Linked DNA regions of Homo sapiens: region 2 is linked to region 1. The links are contacts of gene promoters, found by promoter capture Hi-C in human tissues and cell types (Jung and others, 2019). All regions are on one chromosome and are shown on one strand. Each heading gives the region's core, a stretch centred on a gene start or on the middle of the fragment in contact. The rest is flanking DNA. Distances are from core to core; before and after follow the strand shown.

The links. The method cuts DNA at HindIII sites, captures the fragments that hold promoters and counts their contacts. A contact is called where the count stands out against the background at its distance.
Region 2: a contact is called between a fragment that was not itself captured here and the fragment with the promoter of CACHD1 in region 1, in 2 of the 25 tissues and cell types used here (bladder and neural progenitor cells).

The regions. Positions count from the first base shown.
Region 1 is chr1:64,467,410-64,472,420 of GRCh38, reverse strand. It overlaps CACHD1 (cache domain containing 1), which reads right to left and starts at 2,292. Exons shown (of 27, transcript NM_020925.4): 1 at 1,479-2,292. The coding sequence starts at 1,676. It overlaps LOC107984966 (a long non-coding RNA gene), which reads left to right and starts at 2,396. Exons shown (of 2, transcript XR_001738100.2): 1 at 2,396-3,235; 2 at 4,051-4,148. RefSeq lists an enhancer at 1-163 and a silencer at 1,963-2,082. The HindIII fragment of the contact is 8,534 bases long and covers 1-5,011 here.
Region 2 is chr1:64,688,488-64,692,807 of GRCh38, reverse strand. CACHD1 (cache domain containing 1) reads right to left here. Exons shown (of 27, transcript NM_020925.4): 27 at 1-1,485. The coding sequence ends at 1,247. Among named protein-coding and RNA genes, the nearest start is that of RAVER2, 54 kb to the left of the region's middle. The HindIII fragment of the contact is 8,353 bases long and covers 1-4,320 here.

The DNA.
Region 1 (5,011 bases), core at 1,043-3,542:
ATGTCACCCTTTAAAAAATTCCGGTGGTCTTTCCCCACAGTAGAGAAGGTCTGTGGAACTTTCCTCAAGAAAATTGTAACCTCTTGGGAGGAGATTGGTGTGGGGAAGTGGAAAGAAGAGGAAGGAAGAAGGAAAAAGAAAAGAAAGAGGAGGAGAAGAACGAGAAGGAGGAGGAGGAGGAAGAAGAAGGAAGAAAGAAGAGAAGGAGAAGACGAGGAGGACGACGCGACGAAGAAGAAAGAAGTAAGAAACCTAAATCCCAAAAGTGACTTAAACACCTCTCCCGGTGGGAGGTGGAAGGAGTGGTCACAGTAGGATGGAAATCAGAAACCTATTCCAAGAACGCATTCTTGGAAACTTCAATCTTTCGAAGACCACATTCATCCCCATGATTGTTAGAATGTGTAAGAGAATGGTGTTATTTTATCTAAGAATGTTATAGCAAAGGTTTCAAGCTGGGAATGTCATCTCAACCTCTCCTAATCTAGTGGGCCTTTATGGCCAAGTGGATTAAAATAACAGCGGGGCAGAATCTCCAGGTGGTTGGTGTTCAGCAATTTTTACTACTGTTGGTCGTGAGTAACATCATCAGGATTCCTTACTAGCTGCGGGCAGTTTTTCTGTCAGCCCTCCTTCCTCTCCCGAGGAGGACGGACATGATAAACAATCTGGAGAAATGGGAACCTTATTCACTTTGCTCCCTTTTTCTTCGACCCAAAAAGGCACACACGAAACAAAAATCATACAGCAGACAGCACGCAAACTACAGCAGGATATGCGGAAAGCAACAAAAAGAGTCCCCCAGCAGGATTAGAGTCGGGAGTCTACCCAGAATCTACCAGGCCAGCCCCTCCCCCCATGCTCCCGGGAGGGGAAAGGAGCGCGGAGCCCACTCGGAGGGCCGCTCTCCGCCGGGACCTAGGTGTCCCCGGGGCAGCTGCGTACTCTGCGGCGCCTTCCCTCCCGGCGCCCATTGGTGCGCCTCGGTAGGGAGGACGCGAGGACGCGAGGACGCGGTCAAGGGGGTGGGGTGGGGACTTCGGAAAATCGTCCGAGCCAGACGGGGCTGGCTGCTCTGGGATGGGGACACAAAGGGGGAGTTTGCAGGCGTGGCAGGGTGAAAACAAGCCTACATGGGAAATGTGTGCAAATTAGAGAAGACGTGCGAGGAAACTGGAGAATCCTTGACGAGATGAAGGCGCTGGTACTCAGAAGAGGGGGGCTGTGCAGGGTCAAGTGGGTTCCGTGCAGAGGGCAGGGGATTCTCCAGAGAAGGGCAGGGGTAGACGAATGCATGGAAGAAGAGTTGGTGTATTGTCAGGGGGTCTGTGCAGAGGACAGAGGGGTCCGACGGGAAGCCGGGCTCTATGTATGCAAGGAGCCGATGCACACAGTCCAGGGGACTTGTACCGGGAGTGGGATGGGAGTTTGAGCAAAGGAGAAAGGCGGGATGTCTGGCCAGCTCGGGGGCCACTTACCTGCATGGTGACGACCCCCAGCTCCTCGGCCGCCAGCCTCCGCATCTGGCTCGCCAGCACTTGCGCCTCGTCCAGGATGGAGAAGTCGGCTTCGGCCCCGGCGCCCAGGAGCCAGCACGCGACCAGGCAGAGCAGCCAGAGGGGCGGCCGCCGCGCCCGGGCCACGGCCGTCTCCTCTTCCTCCGGCTGGCGGGCCATGCTGCCTCCCCCCACTCCCCGCCGACGGGCTCCGGGCGCGGGGAAGCGGGCCGCGGGAGGTGCCCCCCGCAAAAGCGCGGCGCACCCCGCAAAAGTTTCTTCCTCTGTTGCAGGCTCTGCTCCGCGCCGCGGTGGCGAAGGCTCCCAAACTTAGGGGGCGCCCGGCTACAGCGCGGGAGCGCGGGCGGCCACCATCGCGGGGCTCCGCGGCGGTGGGGGTAGGAGGCGGCCGCCCGAGCGGTCCCCGGAGCCCGGCGCCCACACGGGCCCCGCGGCGCAGAGGGCGTCTCCGAGAGCAGGGGCGCCCGCAGGCCGGGGTGCGCGGGCCCCGGGGCTGACAGTCGGAATCGGAGTCGGAGTCGGAGCCCGAGCCGAGCCGCGCGGCTCTCGCTTCCTGCGAGTCCCAGCGCAGCGAGCAGGCGGCGGCGAGGACTGACGGCGGCCCCCGGGGAAGAGGAGCGGCGGCCGGGCTGCGAGACTGGGGCAGCCACCCGAGCGAGGAGGGAAAGGGGAGGCTTCACAAACCCACACAACTGAAAGAAAGAAAGCAAGCGGTGGGGAAAGGGAGGCGTCTGGTGCCACCACGCTGCGCTCCGGCTCTGTGCACTTCCCGGCTGGGCCGCCGCGGCGGCTGCGGTGATTTATGGAACCAGCAAGAGAGGCGGGGAAATTCCCCCGGTTGCCCCTCCTCTCTCTCCCTGGCTCCCGCCTCAGAACCTGCCCCCCGGGACGCCGGGGGCCGGGGGACCAGCCTCTCTCTCTGCTCGGGGACCGGCCCAGCCCGGGCAGGGGAGCCCACGGACCTTCCCGTGGCTGGAGACGGAGACCCCCGCCAGCGCTCCCCGCCTCCGTCCGCGCCAGGGAGCCCACCCGGCCCAGGTTCCAGCCATCGAAAAGTCCTTTAAGTTCTAGGACGCTGGCTGTCTGCCTGGCAGCGGTTGGGGAAGAAGGGGACTGCCATGTGTAGGTCCACTCCCTCTCCTTGATGTTATTCATCACAATGGCTAGCTAGCGTTCCACCCACAGATTTCTGTTGCAACCAGCCACCGTGTGCCCGGCACTGGGCTCGGGGGTGTGCACATTATCCTTTAATCTCCGCGACATGCCATAGGAGGTACGTATCTTTATCCCAATTTTTTAGGTAACAAAGACTGAGGCTTAGAGAGGTGGAATAAATTGCCAGAGGTCACCCAGGGGATAAGAAACAAATCCAGAGTTTAAGCACAAGTCTTACTCCAAGGCTATTGCTCCTAAATACGATACAGTTCTCTCTGTCTCTCTTTGGAAATGAACCATCTGATCCCATCAAAAGCAAGAAAAAAGAAAAAGAACGACTGAACCGGAGTCCACCGCGCACACACCTGTTCTCCCAAGCATGGAGAGGCAAGGTTAACCTTCCTGTTTGTCCCTGACTACTGGCTCAGGCTCGCTGAGAAATCACCTGTTGGAAGCACCTGGAACAAGTCAACCTGCTGTGTGTGGAGAACAGCCACTCTCCCTTCCAAGCCCTGTGTGGTTGCTGCTTGCAGGTTCCTGGAGAACAGAGCCAACACTGGAAGGTTAAAGGACTAGTCCAGGGTTACCTAGCAGAGGTGGTAGCAGGATTAGAACCTGGATTTAGGACTCTTTTCATTTTACAGCAAAACCTTCTGTTTTACATCTTTGACTATATTGTATTAAAAAGTCATCTTCTCTTGTAAGCTCTCCCTGGCCCATTTTTACCTCATTGAGATCACTTCTCCATTCTCAACTCCCCTGCTAATTTTTGTATTTTTAGTAGAGACAGGGTTTCGCCATGTTGGCCAGGCTGGTTTCAAACTCCTGACCTCAGGTGATCCACCTGCCTCGGCCTCCCAAAGTGCTGAGATTACAGGCATGAGCCACTGCGCCTAGCCTGTGATGTTTGTTTTACATACTAAGGCAAGCATGTTGAGTGTGGGGACCAATCCCTTCACCTCCACATCATCCACACAAGCACATAGTAGTACTGGAAAAATGATTCTTGAGTTAATAATGAGGTAAAAACCTACCTGTATGTCTTCTATTCCTGGAGTTGAGCTGACATTTGTTAGAAAGATGATCCTTTAACTTCCGTTTTTTAAATTGTTGTACCTTTGACATGACACTCCGCAAGAGAAAGCATATTAGTCCATGTGATTAGTGGAAGAGTAAAGAACAAAAATAATAATGACATATAGCATTATTTTTTTATTTGATTCTTCAAGGTTACCATCACCAAGGTGTCACACATCTCTAAACTCCTTCTGAAATGCCTTCACAATAGGCATTTATTGCCCATCTTTTATATGTTGGTATTTCTTGAGGTCCTATTTCTTGGGATGCTAATCCAATGTCACCTTTTTTTCACTCTAAGGTTCTTCTTTTTGAGGACTCTCGACCACATCTATGCCTTCAATTATTACCAAACACGAGTTTATCATACTTCTAAATAAAGCTCAACCTGGATCTCCATTTTTTCTAGCAAGTTCCTGACTTCTCTAGTAGATATACCTGAATGAAAACTCATTACTGCTTTCCCCCATGTTCCACCTAAATCCATGTCTGGCTGCAAATCTAGGTGGATGTCACCCACTCTGCAAGCTAGGTACGCACTCTCCATCCACCCCAGCTCCCAACATATCTCCCGTGTCCATCCCCCGCTGTCCATCTGCATCCTATGGCCTGACTTCAGTTCCTCATTGCAGCTTGCCTGTATTATGACCAGTCTCCTCATGGGTCTCTGTGCAGTCTCTCTGTTCCCCCTCATTCTGTTCTTCACATGGAAGTCAAAATCAACTTTCTAAAAGTCAAATCTCAACTTGTCATTCACTAATCTAAACATTTCTGATGCCCCATCACAGATAAGTAAACTTAACAAACAAGGCCCTTTGTGCTCTGACCCTGTTTGCTCTTCTGGCCTTTTTGTAGCCACTGTGCCCCTCAGTTGCCTCACCACTCCCAGAAAACACCTATATGGCAGCCTCAAAATTCTTCCCCTTCTCTCCACTTGCTAGGTCCCCTATTCAGCTGAGGTGTCATTTCTGTGACACCTACCCCCACAGAGTTTACGGCTCCTCTTTGGTGCTCCAAAGCTCTTGGTTCTTCTCTCAGCACTTAATGTCCCCTCAGCGCTTAACAAGCAACATTGTGATTTTCCACTTGAAAGCTTTGATTTCTCCACCTTGTTTCTCAAAGTGTGATCCACCAAACACACTAGCCTCAGGACACTTAATAAACTGCAAATCCTGTGCTCTATTCCAGGTCTACTAAAGCAGAATCTTTGGAGGTGGGGGGTGGGTCCTGGAATATGCATTTTATAGACCCCCCTTCCCCGC
Region 2 (4,320 bases), core at 1,131-3,630, 220 kb before region 1:
AAATGTGAGTCTAAAATACATCACTGTAATTAAAACACTACTTTAAAGTTACAATGCCCCATGTTATAGTAGCCAGATTTGATTAATCCCTGTATAAATCACAAAGCAATTTGGTGGATAATGTCTTGGCTAACTGGCAGCAGCTTTTAACCGTGATATTAAAAAAAAAATTCTTTAATTAAGAACCAGACTTTCACAATTTAGAAAACTTCTTCCCTTATATGTCAATATTCTCAGTCAAAATGGGATATTTAAAAATTTGTAGTCTCTAAAACAAGGAAAATAAATCCAACCCTCCCTTAGCTGAAAGGATGCGGTTCTAACATTAGGTTTCGTAGAAACCTAAGAATAGCATTGTACGAGGAGTGGAAACAAGTCATAAGAAACATAACATTTCTTTTAAAACCTCTTAAATTCCTCTGCCCCTCCCCATCTCTGTCAAACACAGAGAAAGAATACTGCATTACAAACAAAGATGTGTTTCCGTGAAATGATGTAAACAAGTCAGAGAGAAAGATTTCTTCATTTTCCTATTTTGTGGAGTGGGGCAGTGGGATATCAGTTAAATAAGAAATAGAGCTCCTTAATCAAAGAACCACTTCATTACACACAAAACAGCTCGGGGCAACTGCTGAAAACTTCTCCTGTGTTTCCTTTCCTTTTCCCCAAAGTTTGAGAATGTTTGAAAGTTCAATAAATAGTAGAAAAATAATCCTTTACTTAGAAATTCTGAGATGCATCGTTTAGAGCATAACATGAGTTCCATACAGCAACTGTGGTATCCAGGTACCGCTAAGAAACAAAGCGAAATCTTCAATGCACACATTTGTATCTGCATGTGCCACATTCCAGTCTCTGGGTGAGCAGATTTTTCTCTCTTCCAGTTAAGGAGAGCTGAATGCTTCTGGCTCTTTGGAACATTCCTCTGGCTCAGCTTCACTTGCAGGTTCCGTCTCTGTGTTTGGAGGTTCGCCTTCTGTTACCTTCCATTAGTGTTATGGCAGGTCTGTTCATCAGGCTTATTTCCCCTCCATTTCAGAACCAGCCTCACATCTTCACAAATGTGACTGTGTTGTTGTTTCTCTCGTTTTTAACCATGTCGACAGGCAGGAAATGACTCAAACAACTCTGCACAAAGCACAAACACAAGGGAGGTCTCTTGCTGTGGGTTTTAAGCCGGTTCTTTTTCTTTCCAGAACATTCTGTAGCTCCCAGATCTCATCTTGGCGTGGAGGTGAGGAGATTGTTAGCATTCTGCATCGACAGTGTGTACCGTGACGGCCGCCTGTAAGTGGTGGCTATGATGAAGTGTAGGGTGGTGTGACCGGTAGTGGTGGAACTTGTGACTTAGTAGGGCAGCAGTCTGAGGGGGGGTATCCAGGTCTAAGTCCTCATCATGGTTTCCCACATCGACCCCGGCTGACAAGGGGTCATTGTTGCATGGAGGATTTTCACTGTCCTCCTGTGGGCTCATGGTGCTGTAACCTAGAAAAAGAACAAAACAAACACACAGCTGAGAGCTTCAAGACGCAGACAGAAGATTTCACCTACAATTTCTAGGGCACTGGGAGGTATTCCTGTCTTTGCAATACATAGGTGCAAACACTGGCAGACTGTCAGCAGATGCTAAAGTAATTTATTTTTAAAGAGATTTAGTGATAACTCTTTTTTTCCCTTAAAAAACAATGACACAATAAATACATAACCACTTCAGACAGCTGAGAAAGTACAGAGGAGAAAAAAAAAATAAACAAGAACCCTTATCCCAAATCCCCAAACCAGCAACACAAAAATGAAAATCACACTACATCCCATCATCCATGGCGAGCCACCACTGGGGACCTATCTTTCTACACTTTTACCTATGATAAAGATAATCTTTTTTATTAAAGAAATCCAAAAAATGGACAGCTTCAAGAAGAAGATCTGAACAGGATTCAGATCAACTGGGGCTGGTGCGGAAATCTGGGCTTCCGCCTGAATGCCTGAATGTGACGCCACAATAGAACAAAAAGAACCATCACCATCACCTGCGTGCTTGCTTGGTAGCAGGCACTTGTGTCAGGCAATTCTTGCACACCAATGGTGATATATTTTAATATACATTTTACAATTCAGGGAAATGATGATCAGAGAGGTTAAGGAATTTGCCCAAAGTTCTAGTGCCTAATGAAACACTAACTCCACATATACCCAGGGCAACTAGCTGTGCAATCAGCTATTCTCTGTGTTAGCTGCCCCCCACCCCATTTAAATTTAATTTCTTTTGGTATTCTAAGTAATACATGTTTCAAAGGCAAATGCCCTTGCTGATCAAAGGATTCCATTCTGAGATTCCTGGCATGTTTTTAAATATTGCAAAAATCTCCTTTAAACATTTTAAGAAGCAACAGCTCATTAATATTTCCATTGCATCTACAGTTAGCGTCAATCAGCACTTACCCGTGGGTAATGCTAGTCACATTCATGGCTGCAAAATTGATGTTCTTGCATGCAGCCAAGCAGGAGTCATTGGTGGTTGAAATTGTATGCTCTGTGCAAAAATTCTGTCCTCAATGAAACATTACTCAAATGATAGAATTATTTAGCTGTCAGTCCAACTTAACAAATATTTACTGCGTACCTATAATATACAAGTCACTGTGTTGGGCACTGGAAGACATATAAAGATGAAAGCCTGGTCCCTGCATAGGGAGCTCAAAAGCTAATGTTTGAGAAATGAAACAAATATCAGCATTGGTCATTCACTTATTCATTTATTGGAGACCATTATGGGGCTGGAGCGGGAGAAGAGGAAACACGAATAAGAGACGTCATCTTTCCCTAATGATTTTACAGTTGAGTTTGAGACAGATGCTCACAAAACAAAGCCTCCTTTTACACAGATAATGGTAAGTGCTATAACTGAGGTATAATTAAAATCCAGAAGAGGGAATATCTAATTCTGCCTGGGGGAATAAGGAATCTTCAGAGAATGTATATTTTAGTTGGGCTTAAGTGGATGAGTAGGAGTTTGATAAGTGGATATAAAGAAAGGAACAGGATGACCACAGCCATAGAGGTGTGGATATAAAGGCCATCCCTGTTCCATGTGGCTTGGATGAGTGCTAGCAGGTAGCTGGAGGGTAGGGCAGGTGGGAGGCATGAAGTTAAGTCAAATCATAAAGCCCGTGCCGAAGAGTAGCAAATGGAGAGACCACACAAGATACTGAGCAGGCCAAAAAATGGCATGATCATTTGTGTTTAGAGGATGGTGGTTTGGGAGATGAAGCGAAAGGAAAGACAGGGAGCAGTTAGGAGGTTATTTCAACAGCCCGCGTGAGGGATAGAGAATTAAACTAGGGCAGTGGGATTGGACAGATTTAAAAGCTATCTCAGTGGTGGAGGCAAGAGAAATTGGTAAGTCATCAGATGTGGGGGACTGTGGGGGTGAGGAGTAGTGAAAGGTGACTACAACTTCAAGTTATAAGGATAAGAAAGGACAACTCACAGATTGAGTCTCAGGAAAGAAGACACATTTTGTTTATGCACAGCTTGATTTTGAGACTCTGTTGGTCACATATGTGGAGATGTCTAGCCAGAATCTCAGAAGTGTCATCTGCAAATTCAGGGCAGAAGAGGAAGTGTTCACTGACATATGTGTCCACCATAAGCATGGTCGGGCCTGGTTAGTACTTGGATGGGAGACATGTGTGTCCACCATGACTGAGTGCCTTCTTGGTGCCAGGTGCCAGGCTAGAGGCTGGACAGGAAAGGGCTAAGGTGAGGCCTCAGCTCCTGAGAGGCCTACCTTAGGGCAAGAAGGGGAAACACCCATGTGCTAAAACAGAGGCACACAAAAGGAATTCCAAAGCCAATGGACTTGGCTTAGATCCTTGAGGTGACAATTGGGTAGACCTGATGGGAGAAAAGGGGCTAAGTAGGTAAAGACAGGGGTGTAAAGGTACCTCCAGCAGGGCCCAAGCACATGCAATGGTACAACAGCTGGAAGGGCTCTGGTGGCTTCTGGGAATGGTGAAAGCTTGGTGCTGGGGGTTGGGGCGGTGGGAGATGGCACTGGACAGATAGGCTAAGACCAGGTCAAGAAGGCTGGCTGAAGCTATGAGCTATGATCTAGTAGTGGACAGTGGGAGTGGTCAGGGGGCAATGGGGAGGCTGGACAGAAGGAAGGTGGGATCAGAGGCTCAGAGGACAGGGTGCTGGAGCATGGGCCTCGAGGAGATGGCAAGGACATAAAGTAGGGCAGTCGCAGTGTGTGGACTGTTCAAGTGCACAGTAGGCTGGATTTGGTGACCAAATGGACTTGCCTGGTGAAGATGC